Linked DNA regions of Homo sapiens: all the other regions are linked to region 1. The links are contacts of gene promoters, found by promoter capture Hi-C in blood cells and fetal thymus (Javierre and others, 2016). All regions are on one chromosome and are shown on one strand. Each heading gives the region's core, a stretch centred on a gene start or on the middle of the fragment in contact. The rest is flanking DNA. Distances are from core to core; before and after follow the strand shown.

The links. Contacts are between HindIII fragments. The CHiCAGO score rates a contact against its expected background, and 5 or more counts as called.
Region 2: a fragment that was not itself captured here is called in contact with the fragment with the promoter of DUSP16 in region 1 in 2 of 17 cell types (total CD8 T cells and neutrophils); the score reaches 6.3 in total CD8 T cells.
Region 3: a contact is called between a fragment that was not itself captured here and the fragment with the promoter of DUSP16 in region 1, in 3 of 17 cell types (naive CD8 T cells, non-activated CD4 T cells and total CD8 T cells). The highest score is 6.2, in naive CD8 T cells.
Region 4: a fragment that was not itself captured here is called in contact with the fragment with the promoter of DUSP16 in region 1 in 17 of 17 cell types (naive CD4 T cells, non-activated CD4 T cells, total CD8 T cells and 14 more); the score reaches 21.3 in naive CD4 T cells.
Region 5: a contact is called between a fragment that was not itself captured here and the fragment with the promoter of DUSP16 in region 1, in 1 of 17 cell types (naive CD8 T cells). The highest score is 5.6, in naive CD8 T cells.

Annotation. Positions count from the first base shown.
Region 1 is chr12:12,561,613-12,564,247 of GRCh38, reverse strand. It overlaps DUSP16 (dual specificity phosphatase 16), which reads left to right and starts at 1,385. Exons shown (of 7, transcript NM_030640.3): 1 at 1,385-2,131. RefSeq lists silencers at 1,076-1,585, 2,036-2,115, 2,146-2,265, 2,286-2,485. The HindIII fragment of the contact is 13,074 bases long and covers 1-2,635 here.
Region 2 is chr12:12,326,868-12,329,502 of GRCh38, reverse strand. MANSC1 (MANSC domain containing 1) reads left to right here. Exons shown (of 4, transcript NM_018050.4): 4 at 1-2,635. Among named protein-coding and RNA genes, the nearest start is that of MANSC1, 22 kb to the left of the region's middle. The HindIII fragment of the contact is 859 bases long and covers 912-1,770 here.
Region 3 is chr12:12,743,958-12,746,592 of GRCh38, reverse strand. It overlaps a transcript of APOLD1 not described here. Among named protein-coding and RNA genes, the nearest start is that of MIR613, 19 kb to the left of the region's middle. The HindIII fragment of the contact is 644 bases long and covers 972-1,615 here.
Region 4 is chr12:12,380,080-12,382,714 of GRCh38, reverse strand. The region is part of intron 2 of BORCS5 (BLOC-1 related complex subunit 5); the gene reads right to left. Among named protein-coding and RNA genes, the nearest start is that of BORCS5, 24 kb to the right of the region's middle. RefSeq lists an enhancer at 1,226-1,520. The HindIII fragment of the contact is 7,704 bases long and covers 1-2,635 here.
Region 5 is chr12:12,719,166-12,721,800 of GRCh38, reverse strand. It overlaps CDKN1B (cyclin dependent kinase inhibitor 1B), which reads right to left. Exons shown (of 3, transcript NM_004064.5): 3 at 1-765. Among named protein-coding and RNA genes, the nearest start is that of CDKN1B, 3.1 kb to the right of the region's middle. RefSeq lists enhancers at 2,180-2,229, 2,300-2,379. The HindIII fragment of the contact is 2,899 bases long and covers 1-2,635 here.

The DNA.
Region 1 (2,635 bases), core at 136-2,635:
ATCCCAAGGAAGCTGCAGTAACACCTCCTGGCCACCAGAGGACAGGGAGCAGTGGGAGAGATTTGCTTCCCCTAGCAAAGTCTTCAAGAGGCCAGAGGCACAGGCTCAAAGTTGCTTCTCCATCTGTGGCCTTCAGGCTTTACCTACTACTGCCAGAGGTGCTAGGGTGCCTCCCATCTTCAAATGGGCTTTTTTTTTCCCTCCTATAAAAGATGGGCCAGAAGTTCCCAGGGCCATACCCCGCAACACTAACCTTCAATGATTACCAATCATAAGGAATGCCTTTAGTTGCAGGACTTAAAGGCAGAAAAGTAGTAACAGGGGTGTATTATCTTTCGAACCCACCCAAACCTGCTTATCAGTTCTTTTGCTAGTGGAAAAACGTGCTTTAGGCAGGGTGCACATGGATATCCCACAGCAAACAGTGCCTTTAGGGTCTAGTGTCCCAATCCGGCACATTGTAAATGGAATATTTGAAGAGTTAGATTATTCCTACACATAAATTCTGGCTCATGGAGCAGTCCACTCGCAGGGTGCTTTTCCGTCATTAATCACATCTTTGTTATGTGATATCCACGTGAGTACTTCTCAGTAGAAGCAGCTTCATGCTCAAATGCTCAAAGAACATTGGAATAAAGCTCCGATTGTCCTATTCAGTGATTCCAAGTCCTGGTTTGTCACCACCTCAGGTCTCTCGTTTTCCAAAGTGCATAATGTCATCTCAAAACAGACATTTTAATGAATTCAAATAATAAAATGCACGAGGTATGTGGAGTTAAATCAACAAGGGTTTTGTACCTCTCAAGAGGCGGTTAACCCCTGGTCTTATTTAAAGATGTTTCTGCGCTGCCTCCTGTAGAAAACATTTTTAAAGAAAATGTAGGCTGCTTATCCTTGTATTTGTAAATATAAGCAAAGTAAAGTAATGTAGGAACATTTATGTGGGGGCTTTCAACCATAAACATATAGATAGCTGAATGCCTGACAACAGTAGTGTGATTTTTCTTGAAGTACCTGTAACTTCTCTCCTGAGAGATGGCAGAGCCTTGCCTTTTGCATTCGCCAGACTTTTTACAGAGCGAGTGTAATTCTCTCAAATCAGTGTTTGCGTTTTTTGACGTTGGTGAGGCAGCTGGAAACAGCTCAAGGAGGAGGGAAAGGTTCTGCGTCTGGGTGAGGGAGAAAACCCTCCGATACCTGTTGGGGCGCAGCACTGGAGGCGGACACCCCGGCCCGGGGGTCGGGGCCGCGAGCCCGGGGGTAGGGGGCGGGCGCGCGGGCGCGGGAGGAGGAGGAGGAGGAGGGAGAGGTGGGGGAGGAGGCCGCGGGGCCGCCTCCTCCGGCAGCTCCGGCTCCTCCCAGCGGCGCCCGCGGAACCTGCCTCAGAGTCGCCGGACTCTGGAAGGGAACATGACCTGACCCCTCCCCGAGCGGCCGGAACGAGGCGCGGAGCCGCGCTCCGGGCTCGGGCGGCCGCGGGATGGGCGAGCGCGCGGCCCCGCCCGGCGCCCACCGCCCTGCCCTCGCCTGTCTCCTCCTTTCCCCGGGGCTCCGCTGAGTTCATTCACTGGGATTGGTTTCAAGTGACGCCATCTCTTTATTTTTAAACCAATGACCTCATCCGCGCTTGAAGTTTCCTGACCAGCGACTCTTTCTCTTTCCCCCAACCCCCCACCCCACCCCCCCGCCTTTCCCCCTCTTTCTATGTATCAGTGTTTGGGGGGCTTTAATCAGTTTTTAAACGATTATTACCACCTCTCTCTCCCCCCCAACCCCCACTTTCACAACGCGGCCCCCCACCTTTACCTCCCTAAGTTCTTCATCTCTTTCGACATTTTTTTTGAAGGCTGATGGGGGGGAGGGTGGAAGAGAAAGAGTGAAGAAAAGTTGCGAGCGTCTCCTCTCTTCCTAAGCCTCCCGCCCCAACCCACCCCTCAGAGAAGGAGAAGATAATATACTGAAAAGAAGAGGAGGAGGAGAGCGACGGGACGGGACGCGAGCGGGAGCGCAGCCGCCCTCTCGGCTCCGCGGCGGCGCCTCGCAAGTCCGGGAGGCGAGGGGGGCCCGAGGGGAGACGCCGTGACAACTTTCGTTTCCCTCTGAGGGAATTGGGAGGTCGGCGGCCCCAAAAGTAAGTGGCCTTGGCGGGCCGCGCGGGGTGTGCGGGCGGGAGGGTGCGGGGCCCGGGGCGCCCTCCCGCCCGGCCGCATGGACGCTCCGCAGCGCGCCCCGACTCCCGGTGCCGGGCGCCGCGCTCCAGCCCCGCCGTCTCTGCCTTCCCGGGCGTACCGGCCACCCTTTCGGGAGGCGGCGTGGGGGCGACCGCGGCCGGGGGCCGCAGGAGCGTTTGAAGCGGGGGTGTAGGCCTGGCCGGAGGCTGGCCGGAGCGGGAAGGGGGCGTGCGGCCGGGCGCGGGGTCGCAGTGGGTGCGCTCCCGGCCGCTGCGCGGCGCTTGGACCGGGCCCCGCCGAGAGGAGCGGCCGCCGCGGGACGCGGCACCTTTGCGGGCGAAGCTGCTCACTTCCAGGCGCGACTGTTACACAACACGCCTGCCAAGTGGGGCCCTGGCCTGACTGTTCCCATTATCCCCAGTTCGCCTTTGGTGTAAGCAGCGAGGCCACCTGGGTGGTGACGG
Region 2 (2,635 bases), core at 92-2,591, 230 kb after region 1:
CTATGTAAAGTAATAAAGTATAATTGCCATATAAATTTCAAAATTCAACTGGCTTTTATGCAAAGAAACAGGTTAGGACATCTAGGTTCCAATTCATTCACATTCTTGGTTCCAGATAAAATCAACTGTTTATATCAATTTCTAATGGATTTGCTTTTCTTTTTATATGGATTCCTTTAAAACTTATTCCAGATGTAGTTCCTTCCAATTAAATATTTGAATAAATCTTTTGTTACTCAGTAGTGTTCTCATAAGTAGCATGTCCAGCTGGATAACTTTCCATTTATTTCCACTAGCAAAATGATTATGTGGTGAAAATATGCGTTCCACGTTAAAATGACAACCCCCCCTTTTTCCCATCAGTGAGCAAAGAGCTTCACTTGGGAGAATCTAGCGGAATGTTAGCCCACATGGAGACAATGATAAGTCAGTTCTGATAAATGGCCATATCCACTTGGGATCTGTTCTAGTTAACTTGTGTGTGTGTGTGTGTGTGTGTGTGTGTGTGTGTGTGTGTGACAGAGTCTTGCTCTGTCACCCAGGCTAGAGTGCAGTGGCGCGATCTCGGCTCACTGCCAGCTCCGCCTCCTGGGTTCCCGCCATTCTCCTGCCTCAGCCTCCCAAGTAGCTGGGACTACAGGCGCCCGCCAACACGCCCAGCTAATTTTTTATATTTTTAGTAAAGACGGGGTTTCACTGTGTTAGTCAGGATGGTCTCGATCTCCTGACCTTGTGATCCGCCCGCCTCGGCCTCCCAAAGTGCTGGGATTACAGGCGTGAGCCACCGTGCCCGGCCTCTAGTTAACTTTTTAAAGAAGTATTATAGACATTTTCTAAACTTGTACTAAGTTAAAAATGTACCACTATTATTTTATATCCTTACTTAAATTGACCAGCAATCAGTCTAAGCTTAATTTAGAACAACATTGGAAATAATAACTAGCACAGGCCAGGCGCGGTGGCTCACGCCTGTAATCCCAGCACTTTGGGAGGCCGAGATGGGCAAATCACGAGGTCAGGAGATCGAGACCATCCTGGCTAACACGGTGAAACCCCGCCTCTACTAAAAATACAAAAAATTAGCCGGGCGTGGTGGCGGGCGCCTGTAGTTCCAGCTACTTGGGAGGCTGAGGCAGGAGAGTAGTTTGAATCCAGGAGGCGGAGGTTGCGGTGAGCCAGATTGCACCATTGCGCTCCAGCCTGGGCAACAGAGCCAGACTCCGTCTCAAAAATAATAATAATAATAACTAGCACTAACATGATGCTACAATTTTTACTGGTTACCAATTAAAATTTCTGAGAAAGGCTTTTAATAAAGTTTTCCAGACAAGTTATAGGTGAGGTAACAAAGAGTCCAGAAGTCCCCTGGGTCAGTTTGATACCTCTTTCCTCTGGACTTCAATTTGCTTATCTGCAAAACAGGAAATTTGATCCCTTCCAAGTGTCACCAGAGTTTTTAAAGATAAAAATGGAATTCAGATGCGAACTTAATACAGTGAGCACTAGAGGGCAGTAGCTGGTTAATAAGTACAGCAATTAAGACAAATGCAGGAAATGACAGAAAAGGCTTTTCTTCTCCTTCCTCCTCACCTCTTCCTTCCTCCTCACCTCCTTCCCCTCTGCTCTTCTGGTACCCCTCCCCCATTTCCCTGGTTTACACTAAGTTCATAAAGTACATTAAGAGGAAAGCTGGTCTATTGAAAATACTACTTTTCTTATATTTTCCAACTTAACAGCTTGACACAAATCTCCAAGGGGTTTACATAAGCTTTAAGTAGGCTGAATAAATAAAACCTTGAGTCAATTTAACTTAACAAGTATTTATTGAATATCCACATGTAGGCCAGAATCAGATTAGTAACCAGGTGCCTTGGAATTTTAAAATTTCTCCTCTCTTTATTAATGGATTTAGCGAGTGGAAATCAGGCTTTCTGTGATGGTTTATAAAGGTATTTTCCTGGCTCTCTTGGAGTTCTCTGTCCACCTTGCTGCAGTCTTTGTTGTGATGGGGAGACCACATGGGAGCGGTCCAGATGAGTGATGCTACGGGCCCAAACTGTTAGTGGCCGTGAGGATATAGGTTGTAGGGGACATCTGGAGTGGAAAGAGTGCTCTTCTCACACAGCTCTCTCTACTTACTGCCCCTAGGATGGTGGGTGCAACTGTGGCAAGGGCAGTCAGGGTAGGGGAATCCCTTAGAGGAATTCAGCAGTGACTAGTCTGGTTAGCCTTTCCCACAAGGCCCATTGAGTTATGAGCCCCCTCCTTTGGTTTGTAGAAAGAGAAGGTAGCAGCCTAGAACAGGTGAGAAGATGAGGTAGGTCCTTCTGCTCAAACATCCTCTCTCCGTATTTTACCAACACGATACTGACCTAGGTTAAAAAGCTACTCTTGGCCAGGCGTGGTGGCTCACGCCTGTAATCCCAGCACTTTGGGAGTCCAAGGTGGGTGGATCACCTGAGGTCAGGAGTTCTAGACCAGCCTGGCCAACATGGTGAAACCCCATCTCTACAGAAATACAAAAATTAGCCAGGCATGGTGGCAGACACCTGTAATCCCAGCTACTTGGGAGGCTGAGGTAGGATAATTGCTTGAGGCCGGGAGGGGGCGGTTGCAGTGAGCCAAGATCGCTCCA
Region 3 (2,635 bases), core at 44-2,543, 180 kb before region 1:
TGAAGACATCAGAGTTCATACACGTAGTCATGCACATGTTCACCATTTGGAGCAATATGTATGTATGTATTTATGTATTTATTTATTTATTTATTTGAGATGGAGTTTCACTCTTGTTGCCCAGGCTGGAGTGCAGTGGTGCGATCTCGGCTCACTGCAACCTCCGTCTCCCAGGTTCAAGCGATTCTCCTGCCTCAGCCTCCTGAGTAGCTGGGATTACAGGCATCTGCCACCACACGCAGCTAATGTTTGTATTTTATGTAGAGACAGGGTTTCACCATGTTGGCCAGGTTGGTCTCGAACTCCTGACCTCAGGTGACCCACCCGCCTCGGCTTCCCGAAGTGCTGGGATTACAGGCGTGAGCCACTGCACCCGGCCTGGAACAGGATTTAAGTAAAACCTTTTCTCAACTACAGAGACATACGTTTTAAGCCTTCTTGGATTCCCACCACCCTTCCTTTTGTTCTCTCTTGGTCACTCCTCACTTCCAGACTCGGATGAAATAGCCACACTGCAAGGCGTAAAATTAATTTCCTGAGTGATCACGGAGCTGCCAGATGACACCACATGGCATTCAGGGGATTTAGCTCTGCTAAGTAGTGTGAACCTCAGCCACAAAAAATGGAGACAGGAGGGAGCTGGCAGATAAATGCCCTCTTCCTGATCCCTTTCTCAGACTACTCTGGAGTGCAGCTTCTTCTTGCAACCTTTCTAGAGAATTCCAAGTACAGAGCAAGCATGCGGGCTGAAAGATCTGCTGTAGGCAAGACCACTTGGCATTTTCCTTGCCTTTTGCTTCCCTTTTTCCTCCCCCTTCCCACCTGAAACTATTTGTGCTATTCTGAGTCATCCTGCCCTTGCCTTGAGGCCAATCTCAGCACTTAATACACCTAATCTACCACAAATTCAACGTGTACTGGATGCTTAGAGAGGCAAAGAGAATGTTACACTACACGCAATATAGGAAGCTTTCCATTAAAATATTCTTTGGGTTTCTTTCTTTGCTCAAAAATTGTACAGCTCACTTATGTCTCCTTCCTCTTCTCTTCAGTCTTTTCTTTTCTGAGACAGTCTCGCTCTATTGCATAGGCTGGAGCGCAGTGGCACGATATTGGCCCACCGCAACTTCCACCTCCCTGATTCAACCGATTCTCCAGCCTCAGCCTCCAGAGTAGCTAGGATTACAAGCACCTGCCACCAGGCCCAGCTAGTTTTTGTATTTTTAGTAGAGTTTAGTGGCCAGGCTGGTCACGAACTCCTGACCTCAGGTGATCCACCCGCCTCAACTTCCCAAAGTACTGGGATTACAGGCGTGTGCCACCTCGCCCGGCCTTCTTCAGTCTTCTCCTTGTAAAATTCTCTTTCAAATATCTCCTCATTTTGTGTTGGGTAGAGCAATTTGGTCTTCTCTCTGCCTTTTAATTCTCCTCACAGCCAATCACCCTGCTTAATTCAACAAAGGCCCTCTAGGGAGATGAGTACACAAAGCATTCACTTTTTTTAGACAGGAAGGGAGGTATTGCCAGTACATTATTTTAATACATTTTTCCCTCTAACACACAGGCATAAAACAATAAATTCAAAGCAGGCCAGAAGTAGAGAGAAGAAAAAGCTTTGTCAGGGTGAAGCAAGTATGGGATCCAGGTAGGCACAAGTTCATAGTGATATTTGGTGAAGGGAAAGCAGATCGTGGCACAGGGATCTTGTTCTGTGATCTGCCCCATGAAGTCGGGCAGACAGACACTCTACATAAAACAGGTTCAGAATGAGGCCAAATCACCTGGCAAGAGGAGGCCAGGAGCCAGACAGACACTGAGCACAGGCAACAGGAAAGCAGCTTAATAGGCAATAAACCAAGTTCTAAGGCAGAGCACCCCGGAAATTTATAGTCAGGATCAGAACTGATCCCAGCGGCAGTGTCCAATTCCCATCTCTTAAGTGGACAAATAAATCACCTGCCTAGAGTTGAGAGCTGAGAAATCAGAAACCAAGCAGTTCTTTGTTTTTTGATATGGAGTGCAGTGGTGCGATCTCTGTTCACTGCAACCTCCGCCTCCCAGGTTCAAGCGATTCTCCTGCCTCAGCCTCCTGAGTAGCTGGGATTACAGGTGTGCACCACCAGGCCCAGTTAATTTTTGTAATTTTAGTAGAGATGGGGTTTCACCATGTTAGCCAGGCTGGTCTCGAACTCCTGACCTCAGGTGATCTGCCCACCTCAGCCGCCCACAGTGCTGGGATTACAGACCTGAGCCACCACAGCCAGCCATTTTTTTTTTTTTTTTTTAAGCAGGGTCTGGCTCTATTGCCCAGGCTGGAGTACAGTGGTGCCATCATAGCTCACTGCAGCCTTGATCTCCTAGGCTCAAGTGATCCTCCTGCCTCAGCCTCCCGAGTAGCTGGGACTACAGGTGCACACCGTTCCTTGCTAATTTTTTATTAGTAGAAACGCAGTCTTGCTATGTTCCCCAGGCTGGTCTCAAACTCCTGACCTCAAGTGATCCACCAGCCTCAGCCTCCCAAAGTGTTGGGATTACAGGCATGAGCCACCACGCCCAGCCATCATCAATTTAATATCTTGCAGTACTGTGTGCTAGAAGTCTAACATGGGTCTCACTGGGCTAAAAGCAAGGTGCC
Region 4 (2,635 bases), core at 83-2,582, 180 kb after region 1:
CTAAAAATACAAAAATTAGACAGGCATGCTGGCACGCGCCTGTAATCCCAGCTACTTGGGAGGCTGAGGCAGGAAAATCACTTGAACCCAGGAGGCAGAGGTTGCAGGAAACTGAGATCGCGCCACTGCACTTCAGCAGCCTGTCGAGCAAGACTTTGTCTCAAAAAAAAAAAAAAAAAAGATATATACCATCATAGAACCATAAGAAAGACAGAATAGTGATATCATTTGGATACTTGTCCCCTCCAAATCTCATGTTAAAATGTGGCCCCTAATGTTGGAGGTGGGGTCTAGTGGGAGATGTATGAGTCATAAGAGCAGATCCCTCAAGAATGGCTTGGTGCCTCCCTGTAGTACCGAGCAAGTCTCCCTCTATTAGTTTATGGGAGAACTGGTTGTTTAAAGGAGTGTGGCACCTCCCCCACCTCTGTCTCCCTCTCTTACCATGTGACATGCCTGCTCCTCCTTCACCTTCCTCCATGATTGAAAGTTTTCTGAGGTCCTTACCAGAAGCAGATGCTGGTGCCACACTTCTTATACAGCTTGCAGAACTGTGAGCCAAATAAACCTCTCTTCTTTATAAATTACCCAGCCTCGGGTATTCCTTTATAGCAACTCAAAGTGGACTAACACAAATGGCTCTATTAATATTAGATAAAATAGAAATAAAGACAGAGAGTAATATTAGAGAACGGTGTTTCATAATGATGAAAGTTGTTACATCATGAAGATATAATAATTCTAAATGTATCCACACCAGCAACATATCCTCAAAACAAATGAAGGAAAAACTGACAGAATCAAAAGGAAAAATACACAATTCAACAAAACAGGTTAATAATTCAGTACCTCACTCTCAATTGATAAAACTAAAGACAAAATCAGTAAGAATATACAAAACTCAAAAAACACTATCAACCAACATAACTGACATATATAAAACTCTCTACCCAATGACTGCAGACTATATAGTCTTTAAAAGCACATATGGTTTATACCTTTCACAAAAATTAAGTCAAAATGGATCGCAGACCTAAATGTAAAATGCAAAACTATGAAAGTCCTAAGCAGTAATACAAGAGAAAATCTAGGTAAGCATGGATTTGGTGATGACTTTTTAGATACAACACCAAAGTACAATCCACGAAATTAAAAATGGGACAGATCAATGGAACAGACCTAAGAGTCCAGAAATAAACCCTTACATTTATGGTCATTTTTTAAAGGTGCTGAGATAATTCAATAAGGGAAAACACAATCTTTTCAACATATGGTACAGGGTCAACTGGATACCACAAGCAAACAAACAAAGCAAAATGAACTTAGACCTTTACACAACACACACAAAGTAATCCAAAAAGGATCACAGGCCTAAATGCAATCACTAAAACTATAAAACTTCTAGGAGAAATCTTTATTAAAAATATTGATACACTGAACTTCATCAAGATTAAAAAAGTTGTACTTCAAAAAATATCAGCCAGGTCAGAAGTTCCAGACCAGCCTGGCCAACATGGTGAAAGCCTGTCTCTACTAAAAACACAAAAATGAGCCAGGCACCCGTAATCCCAGCTACCTGGGAGGCTAAGGCAGGAGAACTGCTTGAACCCAGGAGGTGGAGTTTGCAGTGAGCTGAGATCGCGCCAGTGCACTCCAGCCTGGGCGACAGAGTGAGACTCGGTCTCAAAAAAAAAAAAAAAAAATCCCCCAAAAAATGAAAAGAAAGTCACAGTCTGGGAGAAAATACTGCAAATCATATATCTGATTAAGAGATTGTATCCAGAATAAAGAACTTGTTATAATACAATATAAGTTAAAAACCCAATTTAAAAATGGATAAGAGATTTGAACAGGTATTTCAAGCACACAAAAATAATCTCAACATCATTAGAGAAATGTAAATGTAAACCATAATGAGATACCACTACACAACCACTCTGATGGCTATAATCAGAAATAAAGAGAATACTGAATTCTCATACATTGCTGGAAGGAATGTAAAATGGTAATTTTGAAAAAAGTTTGGCAGTTTCGTAAAAGTAAACACAAAGTTACCATACAACCTACCAATTCCGTTCCTAAGAATCCACCCAAAAGAAATAAAAACACATTCACATGAACACATGGTCACAAAGGTTCATAGCAGCATTATTCATAACAGGCAAAAACTGGAAGTCAGACTCAAAAGAGTATGTATTGTATGATTCCATTTAGATGAAGTGTCCAGAAAAGCTGGCCTGTGGTTGCCTAGGACTGGAGACTGGGAGCAGAATTAACTGCAAACTGGAAATAATTTTGATATGGTCCTCATTCATCTCTTTTTATCTCTGATTAGATCAAGCCATCTTCCATATATAGGCACACCTCATTCTATTCCACTTCAAATTTTTTTTAAATTGTGCTTCACAGATACTGTGTTTTTTTTTACAAATTGAAGATTTGTGGCAGGGTGCTTACTTCATGTCTGTCACATTTTGGTAATTCTTGCAATATTTCAAACTTCCATTATTATGATATCTGTCATGGTGATCTGTGATCAGTGATCTTTGATGTCACTATTGTAATTGTTTTGGGCACCACAAACCACACCCATAGAAAACAGGAAACTTAAACTGAGAAGTGTTGCATGTGCTCT
Region 5 (2,635 bases), core at 60-2,559, 160 kb before region 1:
AAAAGCAGATGGTCAATTCTTAACATTCAAAACTCCCAAGCACCTCGGATTTTTGCCCCAAACTACCTGGAGTGATCACCATTCTGCTGAGTAATTAACTGGTAAATTCCAACTTTAAGAGAGACTGGGGAGGGCAGTGAGGATAGGTTTCTGTTGCTTTTTTAAAAAAGCCACATGCAGCTATCTAACAAACTTTAGATAGCTTGGGAGATCACCAGATCTCCCAAATGAGAATAAACTTCTTGTAAAAATAAATAGCAATTATCTTTAGCCAGTGTTCAAATTTTTGTGATTTTTTTAAATGAAGTATCAGCTGTCTCTGAAAGGGACATTACATCTTTAAAGAAAACAATTCAAACCCTTCCCCAAAATTGCTTCTCTTCATGCAAGTCAAATATTTATCTACTTGCTGTAAATCAAAGCAAGCTCTTCATACCCCGCTCCACGTCAGTTCCTCAGCCCCACCCTGCCCTCCCTTCCCCAAAGTTTATGTGCTACATAAAAGGTAAAAACTATATACACAGGTAGTACAATGAAGCAAATAAGGAAAAACCTAATTGCATAATGCTACATCCAACGCTTTTAGAGGCAGATCATTTAAGAGTGCCTAAAATTTTAGTGTTATTGTGTTGTTGTTTTTCAGTGCTTATACAGGATGTCCATTCCATGAAGTCAGCGATATGTATTTTTAAAATTTTCATGTATATCTTCCTTGCTTCATCAAGCAGTGATGTATCTGATAAACAAGGAAACATATTCTTAATTCTGCAAAAGAAAACAAAACGGAAGAATTAAAGGAAGAGCACTAGATTAACGTTACCAGTAGAGTACAGGAATTATTTTGTCACTATGTTAGCTTGGAAATACTTGATGGGGAAAAAAGTTTGATGACTATAGTCATCTCCACCTAACATTCTCTTAACTGGATTTTTTTTTCCTTTCCTCTGTGCTGTGTTCTTTGGTCTAGAGCAGTAGTTCTTAACAGTAGGCAATGTTGCCCCCGCCCCACAGGGAACATTTGGCAATGTCTGGAGACATTTTAGGTTGTCACACTGGGGGAGGAGGATACTGCTGGCATCTAGTGTGAGAGGCCAGGGATAATTCCAAACAATCTAAAACACACAGGACAGCCTCCTACAACAGAATTATTCGGCCCAAAATGTCATTAGTGCAGAGGCTGAGAAACCCTACTCTAAATAATCTAGGTCAAAGGCAAGTGGGAAATAAATAGGATAATTAGGAAACTGTAATACTTACGGGTAAAAATTTTCTAAATTTTTGAAAATTTTTAATTTTTTTTCTCCTGTGACAGATTAAACTTTCTAAATTTGAAAAATGATTGGGAATAAAAATTATAAAGGCCTTCCAGAGGAAAATTTTATTAACATCATTTTCAAAATATTCTAATTCCTGATTCATATGCAGAAAATACTCATGAATACTTTTGAATAGGTTCTTACTAATATTTCTAGTATTCTTTGAACTAGCAATATTACTAAATCCTACAAATGCCTCATTGCATGTCAGAACAGGGCCAGATCAAAATCCAGGTCTGATTCTCGTGGCTCATCTGATGAGCTAGGCCACAAGTCACAAACCAACAAGGGCTGCGCATGTTAAGGTTGCTTCAGGAAAATTTTCACCTAATTTTCCCACTTCATATGGTGCTGTAAAATGGAGGTTCTATAGTGCCGTTTTGTATAAGCGCTGAAAAAGATATGTGAAGTCACATATACAATTTAAAGACACAACAAACCTGAATCTCACCTTAATCCCTGTTATTTTAAAATTTTTATAACTGGGGATTTAAAAAGTTAACATCAATATTTTATCGCCTCATATGCTAAACTACGTGTGTGCTTTAGAAAATAAAGAGGTCACAGTCTTGGTCTAAAGGAAGCTAATAAACTATTAAAATATGTAGTTTATTATGAATAACCAACCCATGTTGGTTATCTGGGGACTGAATTATTCAAATTAGCTATTTACAGTGATCAGATTCTTGTGCATGGAAAAATCTCCACTTCCTTTGTGCTGGGCTGACCTACGGTCACCAGTCTTGATATTTACTACCCATTTCCCCTACAAATATCCAAATCACCCTGTTACGGCACAATTAGCATACACTGGCTGACGTGTTCCTGGATTGCTTACTGACAAGAGTTAATTTAACTTCTGCTTTGCAACTTCAGTGTTACCAGAAATTCTGTAGAAACTTTAGTAACTTTTTTATCTTTCCATTTGGTTTTTGCAAATACTGGTTCCTTCTCTCTCCAAACTTAGGAGACAACAGGGAAAGTGACAGTTTATTAAAATGTCAAAGAACACAACATACCATCCTATTCACATCTCTAATCCCTTGCATAACCAAAGATGAGCAATTTCTACCAAACATTCCCCCTCAAAATTGAAACTTAATCATGTATTTGCCATTTTTCCATGTATGGCTCAAAATCTGTTACCGACTCAAGCTGAACCTCTAGGAAATTAATTCTCATTAATTCGGACTGAGGGAGTACCCTAGTTCTTGTTCGGATGGGCAAAGAACCTATTGCTCCCAACACGTTTTAGTGGGACTCACAGGGAAACGACCTTCCTACCCGATGGGGCCTGGGTTACAAGTAGCTGCTCTGGT